Linked DNA regions of Homo sapiens: all the other regions are linked to region 5. The links are contacts of gene promoters, found by promoter capture Hi-C in human tissues and cell types (Jung and others, 2019). All regions are on one chromosome and are shown on one strand. Each heading gives the region's core, a stretch centred on a gene start or on the middle of the fragment in contact. The rest is flanking DNA. Distances are from core to core; before and after follow the strand shown. Region 1 overlaps FAM193A (family with sequence similarity 193 member A). Region 2 overlaps FAM193A (family with sequence similarity 193 member A). Region 3 holds the start of FAM193A (family with sequence similarity 193 member A). Region 4 overlaps RNF4 (ring finger protein 4). Region 5 holds the start of NOP14 (NOP14 nucleolar protein).

Region 1 (4,460 bases), core at 334-2,833, 300 kb before region 5:
CAGAGCTTGCTAGTGATGTCCTGTATCTGGTCTGGGGGCCCTTGGCTTCATCTGGAAACTTGGCTTCCCCTGATCTCCCATCCACGTGCCACATCGACTCTCTTCCTGTTCTCTGACACTTCTCTCCATCTCCTTTACGAACTCCAACTTCATTGGTCTTTCTGCAAATATTGGTGGTTCCCTGGCCTTGACCCCATGCCTGTCTCCACATTTGCATGCCCGTGGTCTCCTCTGGGCACCACAGGTATACAGATGGCACCAGTGTTGTGGCATGCTTACCTCTTCCCTTTCCCCATTCTGCATGTGTCCCTGTGCTTTTGTTGTTGTTGTTGTTTTGAGACAAAGTCTCACTCTGTCGTCCAGGCTGAAGTGCAGTGGCGTGAACTCGGCTCACTGCAACCTCTGCCTCCCGGGTTCAAGCGGTACTCGTGTCTCAGCCTCCTGAGTAGCTGGGATTACAGGTGCCAGCCACCACGCCTGGCTAATTTTTGTATTTTTAGTAGAGATGGGGTTTCACCATGTTGGCCAGGCTGGTCTCAAACTCCTGACCTCAGGTGATCCGCCTGCCTCTGCCTCCCAAGGTGCTGGGATTACAGGCGTGAGCCACCTTTCCCGGCCATCCCGTCCTTTTGAGTGGCCCTTCCAGCTGCCACCTGTCCCATTGCCAGAGTGGGTCCAGAGTTCCTTCTCCTTTGAAATGCAGATGCTCACCTTGTCTGTTAGAAGTTGAGGTGCCATTTCCTCAATAGCTCCGAGGCCGACCCCTTGCCCTCCACGTGCCACTTTTCATTCCTACAGCTCTGTTCTCAGTACCTTGCAAGTACCAAGCACATGGCAGACAGGGTAAAGGCCGGGTTTCTGCATCAGGTGTGTGCTGTGAGGGCGCACTGCAGCATGTTTGCTGAAGACAAAAGCGATTAGGGTCTCCTGGTACCCGAGCCCTTTGCAGCTCAGCCCCCAGCTTGCTGCCGACTCCAGGTCTGCTGCCCCTGTATTCCTGGTCCTGTCCCGCTGAGGAAGCAGTGCCCGTGAACATGATACATGTCAGCAGAATTACTGAAAAATAATGAGCCATGTCTCGGGGAAGGGTCTTGCAAGATTAAAGCATTTTAAAATTTCCTCTAGTTAACCAATAAGAAAGCAGTTACTGGCGAGAACAACTTCACAGACACCATGAGGCACATGTTATCGTCCCGGCTGAGCATGCCCGACTGCCCCAACTGCAACTACAGGAGAAGGTAAGGCTGGGTTGTGGTGTCAGCACGACTGGCCCATTGGACCTTCACTGGGCTGAGTGGAGGCCTAGAACCGACCCTTAGAGAGCATGGTCTAGTCTTGTGCATTGGTTGGCTTGGTAACTGTCCTTAATTCCTGATCAGATGTGCTTGCGATGACTGCAGTCTCTCACACATCCTCACGTGTGGTATCATGGACCCCCCCGTCACTGATGACATCCACATTCACCAGCTCCCACTTCAAGTGGATCCTGCTCCTGACTATCTTGCTGAGAGGAGCCCGCCCAGTGTGTCATCTGCAAGCTCGGGGTCCGGCTCCAGCTCTCCCATCACAATTCAGCAGCACCCCAGGCTCATCCTCACAGACAGTGGCTCGGCACCAACTTTGTAAGTTGTGACTTTGTAATAAAGTTTCCGAAATTTAAGTCGCCCCAGTAATGAGAAATACATACAGTAATGTCCACAGAAGTATGAACATCATTATTGTGCTTTTCATGACAAGGGACCCTGAGGTTTTTAATGCAGCTTTTAAAACATGAAATCAGTAAACCCAAACTTTTAACACTGTTTATCTGGGAAAAAAAAAACATGGTAAATTAATAAAGGCCAGTAAAGAAAAAACATGTTGGTATGCAGAGAAGAAGTGTCTCTAATTCCGGCCTCACATCTCCTCATTCTCCTAAAGGGTGACCAGTCCGCCGTCTGTCCTGTCTCCCTGTCAGCCCAGCACTCATGCTTGTTTCATGTCTTGCTAAGAACTCAGGTGATCGCTTTAGCAAGCAGTTGAAGGTTTCTGTTTTTCATGTTCCCGCATGATTAGAAGTACATTGTTGTGCAGCTGTCACCAATTCACATTGTAGTTGGCTGTTCCCAGATTTCTTCAGAGTTGTGACCCTGTCATTTGGGGAGGCTTCACATGCTAATTTCCAAAAGGGTTGCACTTGATCATATGTAGTTGCCAAAGTCAGCTTAGGTTTAGTTTACGTGTATCGTAGAGCACACAGGCATCATGTTCCATGTGGAAGTGTGCAGTGGGAGAGATTGTTGTTCCTGACCTTGGCTATGCAGCGTTTCTGGGATTTCTCTGACCAACTGACTTGTGTTCATTCCTTCTGTCTGGATTTCTCATGGTGACTGACGTTTTCCTTCAGTCTTTCCATTTTCAATTTGGGCTTGTTCTCAGACAAAATAATTCTGAAAGGACTGGTTTAAACTCACTGACTCTCTTCATACAAAGATTGCAGGCTGCTGTTTATTGCCTTAGAGACACTGTGTACTCTCCAGGGCACAAGAAAGAGTGTTGACATTTTTGCAGCTGGCTGTTATCCAACTTCTTACTGAAACATAAAAATTAAACATATATAGCCTAATGAAAATTTAAGATGGAAAATTTCATCCCTGTTCATTTGTCACAGCTGCTGATGTCAGTTATGGTCTCTTGTGTCACGTGTGGTAGTGGAAGAAATTGGCTGTGGGAGCCTTTCTCCTTGGGCCGGAACTGCCCATCACCAGTTACGGGGAGCCTAGGTTCTCGGGACATCTGGGCCTTCAGCAGCTTGTGATCAATGTCTTCCAAATGTAAACTATGATTTGAAAATCTCCAGTGTTATCTTTTCATTTGTATTGTCTCTTTCTTGGTGCCTTTTCTAAGTTGGTTAAAAAGAACAATGTGATTGTAGTCAGTGTACCACACAGTACTTCCTGGATCTTATGGGTTGGATCTTTACGGAGCTAGGGCTGGTGAAGCCTCCTGCTGTCACATGGAGCAAATGGCTGAGTTACTTCACTAGAACCTCAGTTTTCTCATCTGTAAATTGTGCCTATGGTCATCCTCAGGAGTGTGTATGAGCATTGGCCCAGGCAGCGTCCCAGGTGCAGTGGGCCTGCAGGAAGCCCTAGGACTCTGCACCTTGTGGGTGCTGTTTGTACTTACCTCTGGTGAGCTCCAGACTCTAGCACGTTACTTGTAATGTGTTGAAAAGACACCGGAATTTGGTAGTCCTGGACACTCTTCACTCATTCTAGGAAGTGAGATCACGACGAGTTCCTAGGGTTTTGCCTTCTGGAGGTTGCTGTGTGCCCAGGCTGAAGATGGACTCAGTGCATGTTTTTGTGGACCTTGGAGCATCTTATTGCACTGAGCTTAAATGTGCCAGCTCTTTTAATGCACCAGAGCTGCATCTTAAGTGGTCTCTGTAGGCTAAAGCCTTGAAATCTGTTTAAAATTAATTTCAGGCCGGGTGCAGTGGCTGATGCCTGTAATCCCAGCACTTTGGGAGGCCGAGGCGGGCGGATCACGAGGTCAGGGGATTGAGACTATCCTGGCTAACACAGTGAAACCCCATCTCTACTAAAAATACAAAAAATCAGCCGGGCGTGGTGGCGGGTGCTTGTAGTCCCAGCTACTCGGGAGGCTGAGGCAGGGGAATGGCGTGAACCTGGGGGGTGGAGCTTGCAGTGAGCCGAGATTGTGCCACTGTACTCCAGCCTGGGAGACAGAGCAAGACACTGCCTCAAAAAAATAATAAAATAAAATAAAATTAATTTCAGTAAATTTTTCATTTGCCTGTTGCTTAGATGTCTTGCTAAAGCTGATATTTAATTACGATCATGAGTGACCAGGCCATGACTGGCCTTAAAGCAAAAAAAATTAGTCTTCTGTTACATAAGTGCCTTTAAAGTTTTGTTCAACTGACTATTTCTGAAAATTTCAGCCCTAAGTTGAAAAAGCAAACACTAAACAGCTAAGGTTTAAAAAGCAAACACTAAACACCTAAGGTTGCCATCGGTACCCCTTTAATTTTAATCACAAATTGTGTTGTCTTGGGAGTAGCAGAGAGACTAGTTTTATACCAGCGCTCTTCAGGTCAAATGGAAACGTTAATCAGTCTGGTTAAATTTTTGTAGTTTCCTTAATATTTCTACTTTTGGAGGTTTTTCTGTTTGTTTTTTGTTTTTTACTCTTCCAAATGGCACAAATGTTAATCTTCCAAGCATTTTTCTCATGTTGAGGTTACTAAGAAATGTTAGTGGTAGGAATGATACTTAACTAATACTCTTTGTAAATGAAAGCCGTGATCTGTCCAGGAAATATCTGTGCTTAGTGGCTGGTTTACTCATTGTCTTTCACAATTGAATGACCTCACAGTGACCATCTCTGCTTGTGTCAGTTGTAGTGATGATGAAGATGTTGCACCATTGTCAGCCAAATTTGCTGATATTTAT
Region 2 (4,451 bases), core at 1,792-4,291, 400 kb before region 5:
TCCCCTGCCTCAGCCTTCCGAGTAGCTGGGACTACAGGTACGCACCACCAAACCTGGCTAATTTTTTGTATTTTAGTAGAGATGGGGTTTCACCATGTTGGCCAGGATGGTCTTGATCTCCTGACCTCATGATCTGCCTGCCTTGGCCTCCCAAAGTGCTGGGATTACAGGCGTGAGCCACCACGCCCGGCTGAGATACTGTCTTTACAAAATAAAAGAAGGGAGTCAGGTGTGGTAGTGTGCACCCACAGTTCTAGCTACTCAGGAGGCTGATGTGGGGGGATCACTTGAGCCCGGGAGGTCGAGACTGCAGTGAGCTGTGATCATGCCACAGCACTCCCGCCTGAGTGACAGAACAAGACCCTGTCTCAAAAAAGGAAATGTTTTAATTTCTAAACTACCTTGGAGTAATTCCAATAATGTTTGTGGGACAGAATTACTGCTTGTTGTTTTCTTGAGGAAATTGACTTTTTCCCTTACGTAAGTTAATAGAGGGTGATGTCAAGTAAAGAACATTGTTCTCTTGAATATTTTGAGCACCATGTTAGATAGAGCTTGAAACTGAATGAGAGGTTGTAGAATCTAATTCTTATGGCACAGGATTTTTAAAAATAAACTTTTTATTTTAGAATAATTTTAGATTTACAGAAAAGTCACCAAGATAGTACACTGGTCCCCCATTACCTGCAGGGGATCCATCCCAAGACCCCTACTGGATGCCTGAAATTGCAGATAATACTCAACCCTAAAATATACTATGTTTTTCCTATATATAGTACCTTTACCATAGGTAAAGCTTAATTTGTAAATTAGGCACAGTGAGAGATTAACAACAATAACAGTAATAGGACAATTATCACAATACATTGTAATAAAAGTTATGTGAATGTGGTATCTCTCTCTCAGAATATCTTATTATACTGTGCTCACCTGTTTTTGAACCACAGTTGATCACAGGTAACTCAAACCACTGAGAAGTGCAGCTGTGGATGAGGGCGATGAGGGCATACTATTGAGCCTGGAGTTTGTGCATTCTCTTCAGCCAGCTCTCCCTAATATGGATATTCTAGCGAACCTTGGTATATTTGTCAAAACTAAGAAATTAGCATTGGTACAACATTATTAACTACAGATTATTTGGATTTTTAAAATGTCCTGTTTCTGTTCCAGGATCTAATCCAGTACACCACAGTGCATTTAGCAGCCCAGAATTTTCATTCTTTTTAGTTTTCTCACCTATGAAATGGTGAAGCTTTTTATTTTCTTCAAAGGATTCCTGAGAAGCTAATTAATATTCAGATTTATAGTATGGTAGTAATTTCATGCTCATGCTAAAATTCAGTAAAATGGTTAACTTTTGGCTGGGCACGGTGGCTCACGCCTGTAATCTCAGCACTTTGGGAGGCTGGGATGGACGGATCATGAGGTCAGGAGATCAAGACCATCCTGGCTAACATGGTGAAACACTGTCTCTACTAAAAATACAAAAAATTAGCCAGGTGTGGTGGTGCACGCCTGTAGTCCCAGCTACTCGGGAGGCTGAGGCAGAAGAATCGCTTGAACCCAGGAGGCAGAAGTTGCAGTGAGCCAAGAACGTGCCACTGCACTCCAGCCTGGGTGACAGAGTGAGACTCCGTCTCAAAAAAAAAAAAAGTTAACCATTTAATAGTGTACTACAAGGCTGGGCGCTATGGCTCATGCCTGTAATCCCAGCACTTTGGGAGGCCGAGGTGGGTGGATCAGTTGAGGCCAGGAGTTCAAGACCAGTCTGGCCAACACGGTGAAACCCCGTCTCTACTAAAATATGAAAGTTAGCTGAGTGTGGTGGCGCATGCCTGTAATCTTAGCTACTGGGAAGGCTGAAGCAGGAGAATCGCTTGAACCGGGGAGGAGGTTGCAGTGAGCCTAGATCGTGCTACTGTATTTCATCGTGTTTGACAGAGCGAGACTGCATCTCAAATGAAAAAAAAAAAAAAGGAAAGAAAAAAATAGTGTACTACAATCTAATTACTTTTCCTAAAAATACTTGGTAATTATTTCACTTAGGTGAAAGTAGCCCACCAAGGCAAACATTGTCTACGAGTTACTAGTTAGAGTACAGTCCCTATTGCCCAGGCTGGAGTGCAATTCCGCCGTCATAGCTCACTGCAGCCTCCAACTCCTAGGCTCAAGAGATCCTCCCACGTCAGGCTTTCAAGTACCTGGGACTACAGGCACGGGCCACCACACCCAGCTAATCAAAATTTTTCTGGGGGGGATGAGATCTTGTATGTTGCCTAGACTGGTCTCAAACTGTTGGCCTCAAGCAATCCTCCTGCCTTAGCCTCCTGGGTATTTGGGATGACTGGGATCACAGGCGGGAGCCACTGTACCTAGCTGTTTCTGTCTTTAAAAGCACACAAAATCAGGCTGGGTGCAGTGGCTCACGCCTGTAATCCCAGCACTTCGTGAGGCCGAGGTGGACAGATCACTTGAGGGCAGAGGTTCGAGACCAGCCTGGCCAACATGGTGAAACCCCGTCTCTACTAAAAATACAAAAGTTAGCTGTTCATGGTGGCATGTACCTGTAATTCCAGCTACTCAGGAGGCTAAGGCAGGAGAATTGCTTGAACCCAGAGGGTGGAAGTTGCATGAACTGTGATCGTGCCACTGCACTCCAGCCTGGGTGACACAGTGAGACTCCATCTCAAACAAAAACAGAAACAAGAACAGCATAGGAAGACGGCTATAGCTATTGTTAATATTTTTCCTTCCTTTAAAAGAATAATGGGAGGGTTTGGATCAATGATTTCAATTAAATACCGCTGCACAAACTGAATTGAACTGTTCTTTGTGTGTTTGTACATTTACAGATGTCCACACCTGTATTCCACTGGGAATGCTAAGATGGTCAAATCATAGATGCATAGAACTTCAGAACTGGAGGGGACAACGACAGAGCCCCTGTTTATTGCCAAGACAGTATTTGTTAGCTGAGGAAACTGAGGCCCGAAGACTTGAGTTTGAAAAATTCCTCTAATTGTTGTAGTCGGTGTCCCCTCACATACCTTTCAATTTCTGTGGCTTTTGTCACTTCTCAGTACCAACTGAGATAAAGAAACCACCTTGCTATTCTTTTTAAATTTTTATTTATTTCAGAGACAGGGTCTTGCTCTGTCACCCAGTCTGGAGTGTAGTGGCACAATTATAGCTCATTGTCAACTTGACTTCCTGGGCTCAAGCAATCCTCCCACCTTGGTCTCCCAAAGTGCTGGGATTACAGGCGTGAGCCACTTTGCCCAGCCCTGTCCTGCTAGTCTGGTCTTCCTTACTCTCGCCGTAGTCTACTGCATTTTCTCTTCTCTGTGAACACACTCTGCTGCTTCCTCCTCCCTCTGGATGTCTTCCACCTGCCTTTGTACGTGAGCACCAGGACGTCTTGAGCTTTCTTTGACGGCCCCTCTCTTGTTCCTGCCAGACTCCGGCTGCACGGACAGCTGAGCGTCCTTGCCGTTCGCTTCCTTTTGCCTTGCTGTTCCACTGCTGTTGCGGTGCCTGTTGGGTGCTGCGGTGATCCTGACCTGCTTGTGTAGTGCGGCCTGCGTGGCCTGATCGGGCCGGGTTTTTCTTGCCTCTGCGCCTTTGTGCACGCTTTTCTTTTCTTTTCTTTTTTCCTTTTTTTTTTGAGATGGAGTTTCACTCTTGTTGCCCAGGCTGGAGTGCAGTGGTGCGATCTTGGCTCACTGCAAGCTCTGTCTCCCTGGTTCAAGCCTGCCGAGTAGCTGGGATTACAGGTGCCTGCCACCACACCCAGCTAATCTTTTGTATGTTTAGTAGAGATGGGGTTTCGCCATGCTGGCCAGGCTGGTCTCAAACTCCCGACCTCAGGTGATCCACCCGCCTCGGCCTCCCAAAGTGTTGGGATTACAGGTGTGAGCCACCGCGCCTGGCCTGTGCAGGCTTTTCTTTCCAGTGAGTTCTTCTGTCTTTGCCTGATTCGCCCCTTTCTGAGATGGAGACCATGCGCTGTCCCCATGGGAAGCATTTCTTCACCGTCCGAGGCCAGGCTGTACCTTCCCTTCTGAGTTCCTGTGGTGCCTGTCCTGGCTCGGCCACACCACTTAGACTGGATTGGAACATCTAAACTGCGCTGTGGCCTGCTTGGCACATAGTACATAGGCAGAAACATTGCTCAGGGAGCCAGGCCATTTGATGTGAGCTTCTGCATTTCTTCCCTCTTCACCTTTCTTTGGGACGTCTTTTGTCTTTTGATTTGGAAGAAAGCATCTATCCATTTTTCCAAAGTTAACTGCGTGCTCCAGGGGTTGTTAACTGATGGTTTTTAATGAGTCTGTTAATTCATGGAAACTCAGTGCAGAATTTATGTGTAGTACGTTATCTTGAGGCTTCTGCAAAACAGCTTTGTCGTTTCTCTCCTGTGTCTTGAATCTTTCCACTTCTGTTGGGTTATT
Region 3 (4,597 bases), core at 1,218-3,717, 430 kb before region 5:
GGGCGGGCTCGGGAAGAGCACCCTTTAGGCGAGGGGTTCTCGGGGAACCGACCGGCGTGTCCCAGCCCCAGGCCCGGTCCAAGATTCGCCGGCTCCGCCGCTGCCTCCGCACCCAGGCGGACCCCACCGCACCGCGCCCGGCTTTCCAGCGCTGCCCGAACCCCCGCCCAGCCCACGAGGCAGGGATTCTGTGGTCCTCACTGAGTCATCTGGACCAGAACTAGACTAGCCCAAGGTCACCGGGCGTTCCTGGCGAGGCCAGGGCCGCGCCGCGCCGCCCCTGGTGCATCCCGGGAGCCGCGCCGGTCTGCGGCACCTGGGCGGCGGACAGGGGCGCGGGCGAGGCGGGCGGGGCGGGCGGGCAGCGGACACCGGTCAGAGAGGCGGAACTCCCTGCCGCCAGCCGTGTAGTTTGCCTCGCGGGCGGCGGCGCGGCCTCCTGCCGGCCTAGCCCTACGCCCGACCACAACGCCCAGAAGGCCGCGCGGCGCGGGCGGGACCTGCGGCGACGAGCGAGGCGGTGACATCACCGCCGCATCCAGCTCCCTGGCCCCAGCTCCTCCCAGCGCCCGGGCCCTCGGCCTCGCAAGGCCTGACGGGAATCGTGGTCCACCCCCGGGTACCCCCAGCTGCTGCACGGGCAGCACGGACTTCAGTTCCCGGCGTGTCCTGCGCGCCGAGGCACGTTAACGGCAGGAGGGGGTGGGCAAGCAAAGGGAAAAGCAGAGCCGGGGGGCGGAGTAAGGCGGGGTGGGGGTGGGGGGTGGGGGCCCACACCCCTCCCCCTCCCCGCTGCTCCTTCCCCCTCCCCCGACGTAAACTGGGATCCCTTTCCCCTTGTGTCCGCCATATTGGACTCTAACTCTGGTCAGCCGCGGCGCCGGGACTGTGGACTCGCGGTTCCTCCCGCCCAGCGGCCTGCCCCGCAGCTCCCGCCCGCCCCAGCCCTCCCCGACCCGGACGCGACCCCGCGCAGCGCCCCCCGGCTGGCCGGAGCGCCCGCCGCCGCGGCCGCCTCAGCCTCCCCGCCTTCCCCGCCCTCCGCCGCCGCCCGCGGCCCCCGCGCCCGCTCTGCGCCCCTCTCCCCGCCCGCCATGAGCCCAGCCGACGCCAAGCGCGGGGCCAAGCGCCGGAAGAACAAGCGGGGCGGCGGCGGCGGCTCGGGCGGGGGTAACGGCGGCGCGAGCAGCGGCAAGGCCGGCCCGGCGGCGGCGCTGCGCGGTTCCCAGGCCGCGGGCCTGGCGGCCCCGGGCAGCGCGGCAGGCCTGGTGGGCGGCGCGGCGGCGGCCAACGGGCCTCTCGGCGCGGGCGCGAGCGCGGGCGGCGCCGCCCCCGGAGGCTACTTCGAGGTAAGCGGCGGCAGCGGGCAGGGGTCGATGGCGGTACGCGGTTGCCGTTCCCTCGCGCCTTGGCGGAGCTCGGCCTCCCGCTGTCGGCCCCGGGCCTGGGAGCGGGATGCTGCGGGCGGGCGGATAACGGGTCCTGCGGCGCTGCGCTTGCCGAGGTCCCGGGGCAGGGCGGCAGGTGGGCCGTGCTCGGCGTGACGCGGCCTCTGTCAGCCTCTTGAGAGGAGAACCTGAGCAGAGGCGGCGGGAGGGCTACACCGGGGCCGCCGCTCACGGCGACGGGCTGGTCCGCAGGCTGGAGCAGCCCCTCAACGGGCGGGGACGTCTCCGGGGTGCAGCTCCGCGCACGGCGCTTCGCCTTCCGCTGGACCCGGCGGGTGATACCCGCGAGGCCCGGGCTTCTGTCGTGGCGCCTCGCCCGCTGCGGCGGTTCCAGAGCGACTGCGATTCCGGGAGTGAGCAAAGCTGCCCTTTCGCTCCCAGGGCTTTGAAATGTTTCTCTGGCCACCTTCGTTATTCCGTGCGCGTGATGATTGAGAAGGGCCTCCCGGAAGTTTTCCTTTGGTCCTCCTATGTGGTTATTTGAAATCTACCTGACAGCCACCTGGAGCTGGCAGCCCTGGCCCCTCCTCCCCCGCTTTGTTAAGTTTTCAGGGGTATTTAGTGGTTTGGTTACTCAGGTATGTATTTAGGGTTCGAACTTAAGGAATTTGAAAGGTGATTTTTTTCAGTTTTGTTTATGAAGACAGCTAGCACACATTGCACCTACCAATTATGGATTCCTGCCACTTTTATTCAACCGTTGGTCACAACATTTCAGAGGGTACACTATTTATAAGTGGGTATGCAATTGGCGCAGTCATTTCCAGTTATCCCATTGTCTGCTGAAAGAGAATAGATTTTTTTTGAAAAGTTGCGTTCTTATAATGTTATTTAAACTCTTAAATTATGTAGTTTTAAAGATATTGCAATTAAAAAATGAAAGAAGCGTTGGGAGTATTTTTGTGCTAAATCATGACACAAATTGTTCTTTTTTTTTTTTTCTTTTGAGAACGGAGTCTCGCTCTGTCGCCCAGGCTGGAGTGCAATAATGGCGCGATCTTGGCTCACTGTAACCTCCGCCTCCCGGGTTCAAGCGATTCTCCTGCCTCAGCCTCTCGAGTAGCTGGGACTACAGGCATGCGCCACCATGCCCGGCTAATTTTTGTAGAGACAGGGTTTCACCATGTTGGCCAGGCTGGTCTCGAACTCGTGATCTCAGGTGATCCGCCCACCTTGGCGTCCCAAAGTGCTGGGATTACAGGTGTGAGCCACCGCGCCCGGCCGTTTTTATTATTATTATATTGTTACATTAGGGTCTTGGGCTGTAGTCCTGGACTTCAGTCTCCCGAGATTGCCCTCATCCAGTATCCTGGAGATCAAAACAGGCCGCAGTTCTTGGGATCAAGGATGAGTCTTGAGCGTTTGGATCTTTGGGGTTTTTAAGGGCAGTGTTTGCTGCTGTCGGGTAGGGGAGGGCGGGGGGGGTTTGCCTGTGCATATCCTTACACAAAATATTGATAATTTTTGGTGTAGCTGGATGTGGAATATATTCATTTCTATTGATTCAATAAAAACCAGTTGGTGGCACAATAAAATTCTTAGTTTTAGCCTTTCATACCATTTCAAGTTTTAATAATTTACATTTGCTTTGCAATACTTAGGTAAAATATAACTTTATTATTTTTATTTATTTTTTTTTGAGACAGAGTCTCACTCTGTCGCCCAGGCTGGAGTGCAGTGGTGCGATCTTGGCGCACCGTAACCTCTGTCTCCCGGGTTCAAGCGATTCTCCTGCCTAACCCTCTCAAGTAGCTGGGACTACAGGTACCTGCCACCATGCCTGGCTAATTTTTTTTGTATTTTTAGTAGAGACAGGGATTCACTATGTTGGGCAGGCTGGTCTTGAAGTCCTGACCTCCTGATCCACCTGCTTTGGCCTCTCAAAGTCCTGGAATTACAGGCGTGAGCCACCGTGCCCAGCCCTGCCTTTATTATTTTTGTCGCGTTATTCAAAATCAGATAACTGTATGCCTATTATTATTAAGATAGGGTCTTGCTATGTTGCCTAGGCTGGCCTTGAGCTTGTGGGCTCAAGGGATCCCTCTCATCTTAGTTTTACTAATTACTAAGGGCACAGACCCTTGCCACTGTGCCCACCTGAGTATTATTTTTGACAGGACTGTGATATTCTGTTAAACTAGTATGCATCAGGGTTTTGTTGTTTTAAAAGAGACACGGTCTCTCTCTGTTGCATAGGCTAGAGTACAGTTGCCTGGTCATAGCTCACTGTAACCTCCAATTTCTGGGCTAAGCAGTCCTTCCATGTAGCTAGGCCTCTAGGTATGTGCCACCATGCCTGGCTAATTTGTTCTTTTAATATAGATACAGGGTCTCACTATGTTACCCAGGCTTGTCTTGAACTCTTGACCTCAAGTGATCCTCCCATCTCTGCCTCCCAAAGTGCTGGGATTACAGGCCTGAGCCACTGCACCTGGCCTATCAAGGTTTTTGACCATGACCCACTCTTATGACCCACTCCAAGAAATAAAATCCGTTAAGATCTAGGAAACATACACATAAACACAAAAATTTCACAAAACATTTTAGGGCCGGGCACCGTGGCTCATGCCTGTAATTCCAGCACTTCGGGAGGCCGAGGTGGGTGGATCACCTGAGGTCAGGAGTTCGAAACCAGCCTGGTTGACAGATGATGAAACCCCAGAGATGGTGAAACCCCGTCTCTACTAAAAATACAAAAATTAGCCAGGTGTGGTGGTATGCACTTGTAATCCCAGCTACTCGGGAGACTGAGGCAGGAGAATTGCTTGAACCTGGGAGATGTAGGTTGCAGTGAGCTGAGATCTAACCATTGCACTACTGCCTGGGCAACAAGAGTGAAACTCTGTCTCAAAAAAAAAAAAAAAATCCCATCCTTGTTGACACGGTGAGACCTCATCTCTGCTAAAAATACAAAAAATGGCCGGGCGCAGTGGCTCACGCCTGTAATCCCAGCACTGTGGGAGGCCGAGGCAGGCGGATCACGAGGTCAGGAGATCGAGACCATCCTGGCTAACACAGTGAAACCCGTCTCTAGTAAAAATACAAAAAATTAGCCGGGCGTGGTGGCGGGCACCTGTAGTCCCAGCTACTCCGGAGGCTGAGGCAGGAGAATAGTGTGAACCTGGGAGGCGGAGCTTGCAGTGAGCCGA
Region 4 (4,685 bases), core at 1-2,500, 450 kb before region 5:
AACCTTGGAGTCAGTCCACTCATAAAATATGGTAACACCCATTTTAAAATTTAAGTTTTGTCCTTAAAGACAACTTCAGTGGTTAATTATAAAAGTTGTGTTACTTCGTCCTAAATTAAATTGATAGAAAGATTTAAAAATGTGTTTTGTTTCTACTATTCAGAAACTGCGAACTAGGGAAAGGTTGGTATGAAGAAATGTCTTTCCTTTTTTCAATGTACATAGTTCAACTCTTTCTTTGTTACATTTAAACTATATCCATGGATATCAGTCTGCTTTGGACTCCTCTGCTAGTGTTACAGATGGAAATAAAACCATTAATTTGAACCAAATATCTTTTACACATTCATTTGCTCTTTGGAATCAATTTCCCCCCTTTTTGCCAAGGTGCGGGGTTCTTATCTGCCTCACGTTGAGTGTATTTTGCATTGGTGTGTGTTCAGGAAGTTTCCATGTCCTAAATCCAGCAAGCATGTGAGAGGCTGTTCTTGGAGCACAGCCACAAGCCCAAGCCCTGGAGTCCCTAAGAGAGCAGAGTCTACTCTGAGAGGCAAGGTTGACCAAGGAGCTGTCTGCTCAGCTCGGCCAGTCTCTCAGAGGTGCTGGGGGTGCTGCTCTGAGTGGGATGGACTGAGATTGCCCTGGAAACCTTGCACTGCAGCACCCCCCTTTGCCCCTGACCACCTAGATACAAAATTTGCCCTCTGAGTGGGAGTCAGCACTGGGAGTGCATGGATATGCCAGCCACTGCCACAGGCGAGCAGTGCCAGCAAAGCCACAAGGAGGGAATGGGCTTGGCAGTGTGGCCAAGCTCTCCCTTTGCCTCTGCCCTCTGTACCTATCCAGCTGTCCCCAGGGACTAGAAAGGCTAACATGCTGGCTGCCTGGGTCCCAAAGGCCTACCATCCAGTGCAGTTTGCTTACCATGCTCCTGGCACTGCACTTTTGGCTCTGTGGGCAGTGAGACAGACATCATGGAACATGTTTACAGAGGAGACAGTCCCCCAGGCCACTGGAAAATTGAAACTGATGAGGGTGGGGTACGGGAAACCAGGAGATCCAGCAGGAAGAAGTTGAAGCTGTCCAGAAAGCTCTCTCTGAATAAGGGCTGCTAAGTTGCCATCTTCAAGGTCCAGAAAGCTCTCTAGGGAAAGAGGAAAGAATTCCAGAGACCCCAGGCCAGGCCTGTGAAAGTTATGAGAAAGAGCTTCTTGCTGGCATACAGTAGGGTCTGCAGGCTCCCCGATACCTAAAGGCATTGGACCAGACACTTCTGGTGGCTACCCAGGGCCTGGCAGTTCTTTACCCCAGGAGCAAGCCTAGGGGAGGCAGGGAGCAGTGTATCCCTAAGACTGGTACTGCTGGAGTGGGTCTGGTCCTGGAAAGGAGGGAGCCCCCAAGGCTGGCTATAGAAACTCAAAAGATGTCTGTATTAACTTTTTCGGTGGGGGGGTGGTTTTGTTTTGTTTTGGCAGCATAGAAACAATTGATTCTCTATATTGTGTATCCAGAATCCTTGCTATTTTTTTTTTTTTCCTAAGACGGAGTCTGGCTCTGTCGCCCAGGCTGGAGTGCAGTGGCTCGATCTCAGCTCACTGCAACCTCCGCCTCCCAGGTTCAAGCGATTCTCCTGCCTCAGCCACCCAACCAGCTGGGATTACAGGGACGTGCCACCATGTCCAGCTAATTTTTGTAGTTTTCGTAGATACGGGCTTTCACCATGTTGGCCAGGCTGGTCTCAAACTCCTGATCTCAAGTGATCCGCCCGCCTCGGCCTCCCAAAGTGTTGGGATTACAGGCGTGAGTCACCACTCCCAGCCCCAACTCTATTTTTTTTTTCTTTTTTCTTTTTTTCTATTTTTGTAGAGACGGGGGTCTCATCACGTTGCCCATCCTGGTCTTTAACTCCTCGCCTCAGGCGATACTCCTACCTCAGCCTCCCAAAGGTGCTGGAATTAAAAGTGTGCGCCACCGCGCCCAGCCTAGCCCAGTACATTATTATTACACACAAATGGTGTTTGTGTTTTAGTGTTTCATCAAGAAAGATGTTTGCTGTAGGTTCTAGTTAGATAACTGTCAGATGAGGGAGGTTCATTTTCCTACCATGAGATAAGCATTTATCTTTTTTTTTTTTTTTTTGAGACGGAGTTTCACTCATCGCCCAGGCTGGAGTGCAGTGGTGCAATCTCTGCTCACTGCAGTCTCCGCCTCCTGGGTTCAAGCAATTCTCCAGCCTCAGCCTCCCGAGTAGCTGGGATTACAGGCATGCACCACCATGCCCGGCTAATTTTTGTATTTTTAGTAGAAACGGGATTTTACCATGTTGGCCAGGCTGCCCTCAAACTCCTGACCTCAGGTGATCCGCCTGCCTCGGCCTCCTCAAAAGTGCTGGGATTACAGGCATGAGCCATGACACCTAGTGGCATTTGTCTTCAATTTCTGTTTTTTGTTTTTGTTTTTTTTTAACGAGACAGATTCTTGCTCTGTTGCCAAGGCTGGAGTGCAGTGGCACAATCTCGGCTTACTGCAACCTCCACCTCGGGGTTCAAGCGATTCTCCTGCCTCAGCCTCCTGAGTAGCTAGGCATGCACCAGCACGCCTGGCTAGTTTTTGTATTTTTAGTAGAGACAGGGTTTCTCTATTTTTGTTTTTGGTCACAAGTGAATGTTCAATCTTACCAGTCCTTTTTCTGCTTCTATTGAGACAAGATTTGTTTGCCTCTCTAATCAGTTAATGTATTGGGTAACATAGTTATATGTTGTTTAACTACAGGGATATGTTCTTTTTTTTTTTTTTTTTTTTTTTTTTTTTTTTTTTTTCCAGAGACAGATTTTCACTCTGTCACCCAGGCTGGAATGCAGTGGCATGATCTCAGCTCACTGCAGCCTTCACCTCCCACATACAAGCGATTCTCCTGCCTCAGCCTCCAGAGTATAGCTAGGATTACAGGTGTGCACCACCATGCCCAGCTAATTTTTTCTGTTTCTAGTAGAGACAGAGTTTCACCATGTTGGCCAGGCTGGTCTCGAACTCCTGACTGCAAGTGATCCACCCACCTCAGCCTGCCAAAGTGCTGGGATTACAAGCGTGAGCCACTGCGCCCCACCTTACAGGGATATGTTCTGAGAAATGTGTTGTTAAGCTGGGCTCTGTGGCTCACGCCTGTAATCCCAGCACTTGGGGAGGCCGAGGTGGGTGGATCACGAGGTCAGGAGTTCAAGACCAGCCTGGCCAAGATGGTGAAACCCGTCTCTACTAAAAATACAAAAGTAGCTGGGTACGGTGGCAGGCGCCTGTAATCCCAGCTACTTGGGAGGCTGAGGCAGGAGAATCTGTTGAACCTGGGCAGCAGAGGTTGCAGTGAGGCAATATTGCGCCACTGCACTCCAGCCTGAGTGATAGAGTGAGACTCCATCTCAAAAAAAAAAAAAAAAAGACAAAAAGAAATGTATTGTTAGGCAATTCTGCTGTTGTATGAACATTGTACAGTGTAATGTGTAATTAAACCTAGATTGCAGAGCCTACTACACATCTAGGCTATGTGATATAGCCTACTGCTCTGGGCTACAAACCTGTACATGTTACTGTACTGAATACTGAAGGCAGTTGTAACACGATGGTAAGTATTTGTGTATCTAAACATAGAAAAGGTACAGAAAAGGCAGGGCGTGGTGGCTCATGCCTGTATTCCCAGCACTTTGGGAGGCCAAGGCAGGCAGATCACCTGAGGTCAGGAGTTCGAGACCAGCCTGACCAACATGGAGAAACCCCATCTCTACTAAAAATACAAAATTAGCCAGGCGTGGCGGCACATGCCTGTAATCCCAGCTACTCAGGAGGTTGAGGCAGGAGAATCGCTTGAATCTAGGAGGCAGAGGTTGCAGTGAGCCGAAATCATGCCATTGCACTCCAGCCTGGGCAACAGAGACTCCATCTAAACAAAAAAAGAGAAAAAATGGAGGCTGAGTGCAGGGGCTCACACCTGTAGTCCCAACACTTTGAGAGGCAGATGTGGGAGGATGGCTTGAGCTCAGGAGTTCAAGACCAGCCTGAGCCACATAGTGAGACCCTGTCTCTATTATTATTATTATTATTATTTTTTTTTTTTTGAGATGGAGTCTCGCTCTGTTGCCCAGGCTGGAGTGCAGTGGGCGATCTTGGCTTACTGCAAGCTCCACCTCCCAGGTTCACGCCATTCTCCTGCCTCAGCCTCCCAAATAGCTGGGACTACAGGCGCCCGCCACCACACCTGGCTAATTTTTTGTATTTTTAGTAGAGACGGGGTTTCACCATGTTAGCCAGGATGGTCTCGATCTTCCGACCTCGTGAGCCGCCTGTCTCGGCCTCCCAAAGTGCTGGGATTACAGGCGTGAGCCACTGCGCCCAGCCATGTCTCTATTATTTTTAAAAAATAACAATTAAAAACAAAAACCGTGTACATTAGCCTAAGTCTACACAGGGTCGGGGTCATCATCATCACTGTTTTCCACCTCTTCCTCTTGTCCCACCAGAAGGTCTGTAGGGCCGATAACACGTGGAGCTCTCATCTGCGGTGACGGTGCCTCTGGAATACCTCCTGAAGAACCTGTGAGACTGTTTTGCAATTGACTTCTTTTTTTTTTTTTTTTTTTTTTTTTTGGAACAGCATCTTGCTTTGTCACCTGTGTTGGAGTGTGGTGGCACAA
Region 5 (4,925 bases), core at 2,166-4,665:
ATGGAATCTCGCTCTGTCGCCCAGGCTGGAGTGCAGTGGCACAATCTCAGCTCACTACAACCTCCACCTGCCGGGTTCAAGCAATTCTCCTGCCTCAGCCTCCCCAGTAGCTGGGATTACAGGCGCACGCTGCCACGCCCAGCTAATTTTTTTGTATTTTTAGTAGAGATGGGGTTTCACCGTGTTGCCCAGGCTGGTTTCGAACTCCTGAGCTCAGGCAATCTGCCTGCCTCGGCCTCCCAAAGTGCTAGGATCACAGGTGTGAGCCACCAAACCCAGCATACACCGAGAAGACTTCTGAGGTCTGTCCCTGCAGAGGGAGGGAGTGTCACTGGCTTCTAGCAGGAAGGGGGTAGATGGGGCAGGCATCAGCCATCTCTGCCTCTAAAAATATTAGTTCTCATTATCTGGAATATGATTCTATGGGTAAATCTTAGTGAAGAACAGCCCTTAGGCTATAAATACGTAATATGAGTTATTCTACATTATTGTGATTCTCTTTCTTTCTTAAACTATATAGATGTTGTGACATCATATGGAATTTACGGCATAAAATGGGGATAACAGTACTTCCCCCTCATAACGGTGAGGATTAAATGTAAACCGTGTGGCACAAGGCCTGACCAACTGTAAGGGACCAGTAACTATATTATTAATATAGTTACTATATATTATTATATTAATATTATATTAATATTATAATCACATTAATATTAATATATTAATATTATAATCACATTAATATTAATATATTAATATTATAATCACATTAATATTAATATATTAATATTATAATCACATTAATATTAATATATTAATATTATAATCACATTATCAATATATTAATATTATAATCACATTATCAATATATTAATATTATAATTACATTATTATTATATTATTATATCAATATTATATTAATATTATATCGATATTATTTTAATATTATATCAATATTATTATATTAATATTATATCAATATTATATTAATATTATATCGATATTATTTTAATATTATATCAATATTATTATATTAATATTATATCAATATTATATTAATACTACATCAATATTATATTAATACTATATTAATATTATAATAATATATTAATATTTTAATAATATATTAATATTATAATAATATATTAATATACTAATATAATAATATATTAATATGCTATTACAATAATATATTAATATGCTAATATTATAATAATATATTAATATATTAATATTGTTAGTATATTAATATATAGTAACTATATTAATAATATAGTTAGTATATTAATATATAGTAACTATATTAATATAGTTACTGATTTAAGAACTACATTAATATAACTTATTTTATAAATTATTTCAGAAATAAGGAAACTGAGGCACAGCTATAAAGCAATGTCCTGAGACTGGCACCTGGGGGCTGCCCTCTTCCTGCCAGACTGAGTGCCTCAGAGTGCTACAACTGACCAGAGGGGAGAAGCCAACTGAGGCAGCCTGTTTACTTCTAAGGGACTAACCCACATGAAAAGACCCAGGCCTCCTGCGCCGGCCTCACGGCCCCTACACGCGTTATCAAGCTTGGAGTCAACTGGACGACCTGCTGTCCCTCAGACAGCTGTGAGTGCCACACTTCACCATACCGGGACAATGTGCCTTTGCATGTGTGTCCTCTGCCCACCCTGGGCCCATGAACAGCTCACTCCCCTTGCAAAACTTGACTGTAACTCCCTCTAGAAGAATTTTTGGACTTTCCTAACTATTACACTTTTTCCTGACCGGGATCTCCTAAGGCACTCAGGTTCCATCTTTGATTTCTTCAAATATTTGTGTTTCTTCCAAGGGCCAAGCATTGGAGATCCAAAAAGGAGCAGCAATTCCCGTCCCCGTCCCAGGCCTTCAGCACAGGGCAGGGAGGTGGATCTGCTCAATACCAGAAGTTTGAGCAACCTGTCCTATTTGGGTTACATAGCTTGGGTGGTGAACCTGAGCTGGCCCTTTAGAGACTTTCGGAGGTAAGGCAGACCTTTTGGACAAACTGAGTTGCAAGAGGCGAAGCAAGGACAACAGCCAGACTGTGCGGGACTCGAACGACAAGCCAAGAAGGTTAAGAATAACAGTATTTAGAGAACACTTGCTGTGTGCTCTATGTGCTATCTTACTTAATTCTCACAAACCACCACGAGGGGTAGGATGTATACTATCATCTCTACTTTTGAAATGAGAAAACTGAGGCTTCAGTGGTGAAGACAAATGTGTCTCTTCTAGGGAACCACACTACCTTATTCTCCCACCCCGGCCCGGGGGTGTGTAATGAGGGACTCCTATCGAAGTCAGCTGTAAGTCTATCTTGCCTATTCATTATACAGGCTGTCGTCTTCGCGCAGTAAGGATAATATGTGTTTTGATTCAAAGACCATCCAGCTTGCACACTGTGATGAACAGAGATCAGGAGCTCATGAAGGCAAGGGCAAGTCTTATTTACCTTTATCTCCCCGAACCTAGAAGCGAGGTCAAACAGAAGCGCTCGGGGTAGCAAGAAGGCTTTGTAGATATTGAAATGTGAATGCATGCCCAGCCCTTACCAGGTGCGTGACCTTAGGAAATGCACTTGTCCTTTCTGTGCCTTAATTTTTTCACCAACCTGCTAATGTATGTTCCTCAGTGAAAATTTAAAAAAAAAAAAGTTAAAAAAACTAGGAAGCAATGAGTTTCCATAGAGTTACTTCCCAAGGAACAAGGTTACGCGCTTCGGGAGAGAGCCGATGAAACATCAAACGCAGCATCCTACACAGCCCCTATCCACCGTCCCCAAACCTGCAGAGCTCAAAGTAAACGCGGAAGGGTTAACAAGCAGCTTGGTCCAGGGCGCCGCCCGAAGTGACTGACTCGGCCTGACCCGGTTGGAGGAGTCGCCGAAATAACACGAGTGCAGGGTCTCCAAGACGGCGAGAGTTTCCAGGTCACTCCAGCTCAGAGAACAGCAGAGGCTTTCGGACTATCAAGTCAGTGCCGTGTGCCTGTCACGGCCTGTGCCGCTCAACGAGGAAACCGACGCACCGAGAAGGACGCAGCCGGCCGAGAGCAGCGTGGGGTCCAGATCCTGCCTTCCGGCTCCCCGTGCGCCCCCCGCTTACCTTCCTGAGGGCCCGTGCGCGAGACACCCCGGGCAGTCCCACGTCGTGGCGCGTCTTCCGGCCCAGGATCTGGAACTTCTGCCTGTTAACTTTCACCTCGAACGGATTGGAGTTGGCCTTCGCCGGGCCCCCTCGCGCTCCCGCCGGCGCCCCGGAGGCCTTCCTTCGCGCCCCGACCTTCTTCGCCTTCGCCATGGCGCGCGCCCCGCTGCGCCCAAGGGCCCGAGACCCGAAGAGAGACAGGCGCGCGCTACCCTAAGACACGTGCCGGGCCGCGGAACCGCTTCCTCGTCTCGCGAGAACAGCGCAGCACCTCCGACTCGCGAGAAGTAAACACCGCGCCCGCAGGCTCGGCTTACTCGCCGATAGGCTCAGCGACTACAACTCCCAGCAGGCCACGCGCCGCGGCCCGCCGTGTACTCTTGGCGCAGGGCCTTCTGGGAGCTGTAGTGCCCCGGCCGCGGCGGCGAGGGGCGCTCCCTCTTCAGCTAAGCCGTTAGCGCCGAGCCCGCCCGGGAGCGGGTCGCCGGCCGCGGCGGGCGCCCCTGCCAGTGAGCCCCTGTCCGAAGTGAGCCACGGCATTGACTCGGGGCTGCCCGGGGGCAGGGCACTGAGGAGGGAGTTGCGCGCGCGAGGCGAGGGCGATGGGGCCAAGAAGAACCGGGGCGATAGCGCGGCAGCGGTGACAGCTGGGACCCGCCGCGGTCGGGCTGCCCCCTCCCCTCGCCCCGACCGCTCCCCTGCTGGTGAGGGCCTGCGGAGGCGGCGGCGGCGGCGCCCTTGGTGGCAGTGGTGGCGGCGGAGCAGCCTCCCGGGATCGTGTCCGGAGCTCGAGGAGAGGGTGGTGCCCGGCGAGCTATGCACGGGGGCGGCGGCGTCTCCTCCTGTTCCGCCTCCTCAGTCTCCTCGGTCTCGCAGAATCCGCCGGCGGCGGCGGCGCCAGGACATGGAGCTCGAGAACATCGTGGCCAACTCGCTGCTGCTGAAAGCGCGTCAAGGTGGGTGCGCGGCAGGCGCCCCCGACCCCCCCCCCAGAGAACCCCGAATCCCGGGGAACCCTGGCCCCCCTGAAGGAACCCGACATCCCCGGAGAACCCCGATTTCCCTGGAGAGCCCCGACACCTCCCACTGGGGGAACCCAGATCTGCACGGAGCCGGAGCCGGGGTCTGTGCAGTGTGGTCAGGCTGCCCGGGCCAGGTCCCAGTCCCCATCTCCTGGCCCAGATGAGAGAAGTCTGCGCTTTGCTCTTCTTAGTCTTGCCCTGTGTCCTTGTCCTGTCCTCTCGGTGTGACCTCGGTGACAGTGTTGCTTCAGGATGCGGCAGGCAGTGTCCTGCTTGTGTTGGACAACCTGTCCCACCAAAAAAGAACGGCGTCTTTATGGTCTTAAGGGGGACAAAGAATAGCAGCCTGGGAACTACTCTGGGCGAGAACCTTCCGATAATGATTGTAGGGCAATGTTATTTTTAACATAGCTGCTTGGTTTTGAGGTTTGATCTGAGGCTCTATGGTGTGTCAAGTGTGCTTTAGCACGACGTGGTCACAGATGGACAAGTTGGCAAAAATTCAGCCTTTTATCATTATTAAAGTGAGGCAGAAATTTAAAAATAGTAATAAGTACTGCATTCATTCACTCCAAGAAAAGAAAAAGCCAAGGCCCAGAATGTGGCAAGGCAAGGGTTAAAAAGAAAAGAAGAACAAGTTTTCTTTTGCTTAGCAAGCTCACTTTAAGGACAGTTATAAGATAACGCTGTTCTGTTTGAGAAGTCGAATCCAAAGGAATAGGCTCCA

Evidence for each region. The method cuts DNA at HindIII sites, captures the fragments that hold promoters and counts their contacts. A contact is called where the count stands out against the background at its distance.
Region 1: a contact is called between a fragment that was not itself captured here and the fragment with the promoter of NOP14 in region 5, in 2 of the 25 tissues and cell types used here (lymphoblastoid cells and spleen).
Region 2: a fragment that was not itself captured here is called in contact with the fragment with the promoter of NOP14 in region 5 in 1 of the 25 tissues and cell types used here (hippocampus).
Region 3: a fragment that was not itself captured here is called in contact with the fragment with the promoter of NOP14 in region 5 in 1 of the 25 tissues and cell types used here (heart left ventricle).
Region 4: a fragment that was not itself captured here is called in contact with the fragment with the promoter of NOP14 in region 5 in 1 of the 25 tissues and cell types used here (lymphoblastoid cells).

What each region holds. Positions count from the first base shown.
Region 1 is chr4:2,658,433-2,662,892 of GRCh38, forward strand. FAM193A (family with sequence similarity 193 member A) reads left to right here. Exons shown (of 21, transcript NM_001366318.2): 9 at 1,126-1,238; 10 at 1,380-1,622; 11 at 4,406-4,460. Among named protein-coding and RNA genes, the nearest start is that of TNIP2, 96 kb to the right of the region's middle. RefSeq lists enhancers at 88-589, 590-1,089. The HindIII fragment of the contact is 4,879 bases long and covers 1-4,023 here.
Region 2 is chr4:2,556,312-2,560,762 of GRCh38, forward strand. The region is part of intron 1 of FAM193A (family with sequence similarity 193 member A); the gene reads left to right. Among named protein-coding and RNA genes, the nearest start is that of FAM193A, 22 kb to the left of the region's middle. RefSeq lists enhancers at 1-605, 3,701-4,239. The HindIII fragment of the contact is 4,035 bases long and covers 1,025-4,451 here.
Region 3 is chr4:2,535,822-2,540,418 of GRCh38, forward strand. FAM193A (family with sequence similarity 193 member A) reads left to right here and starts at 826. Exons shown (of 21, transcript NM_001366318.2): 1 at 826-1,349. The coding sequence starts at 1,095. RefSeq lists silencers at 90-739, 1,240-1,529, 1,580-1,739, 1,741-2,035, 1,780-1,829 and 2 more. The HindIII fragment of the contact is 7,680 bases long and covers 1-4,597 here.
Region 4 is chr4:2,515,526-2,520,210 of GRCh38, forward strand. RNF4 (ring finger protein 4) reads left to right here. Exons shown (of 8, transcript NM_002938.5): 8 at 1-332. Among named protein-coding and RNA genes, the nearest start is that of FAM193A, 19 kb to the right of the region's middle. The HindIII fragment of the contact is 8,421 bases long and covers 1-4,685 here.
Region 5 is chr4:2,959,991-2,964,915 of GRCh38, forward strand. It overlaps NOP14 (NOP14 nucleolar protein), which reads right to left and starts at 3,416. Exons shown (of 18, transcript NM_001291978.2): 1 at 3,135-3,416. The coding sequence starts at 3,329. GRK4 (G protein-coupled receptor kinase 4) reads left to right here and starts at 3,581. Exons shown (of 16, transcript NM_182982.3): 1 at 3,581-4,132. The coding sequence starts at 4,081. RefSeq lists enhancers at 1,974-2,043, 3,074-3,607, 3,608-4,141 and silencers at 3,604-4,033, 4,204-4,253. The HindIII fragment of the contact is 12,457 bases long and covers 1-4,925 here.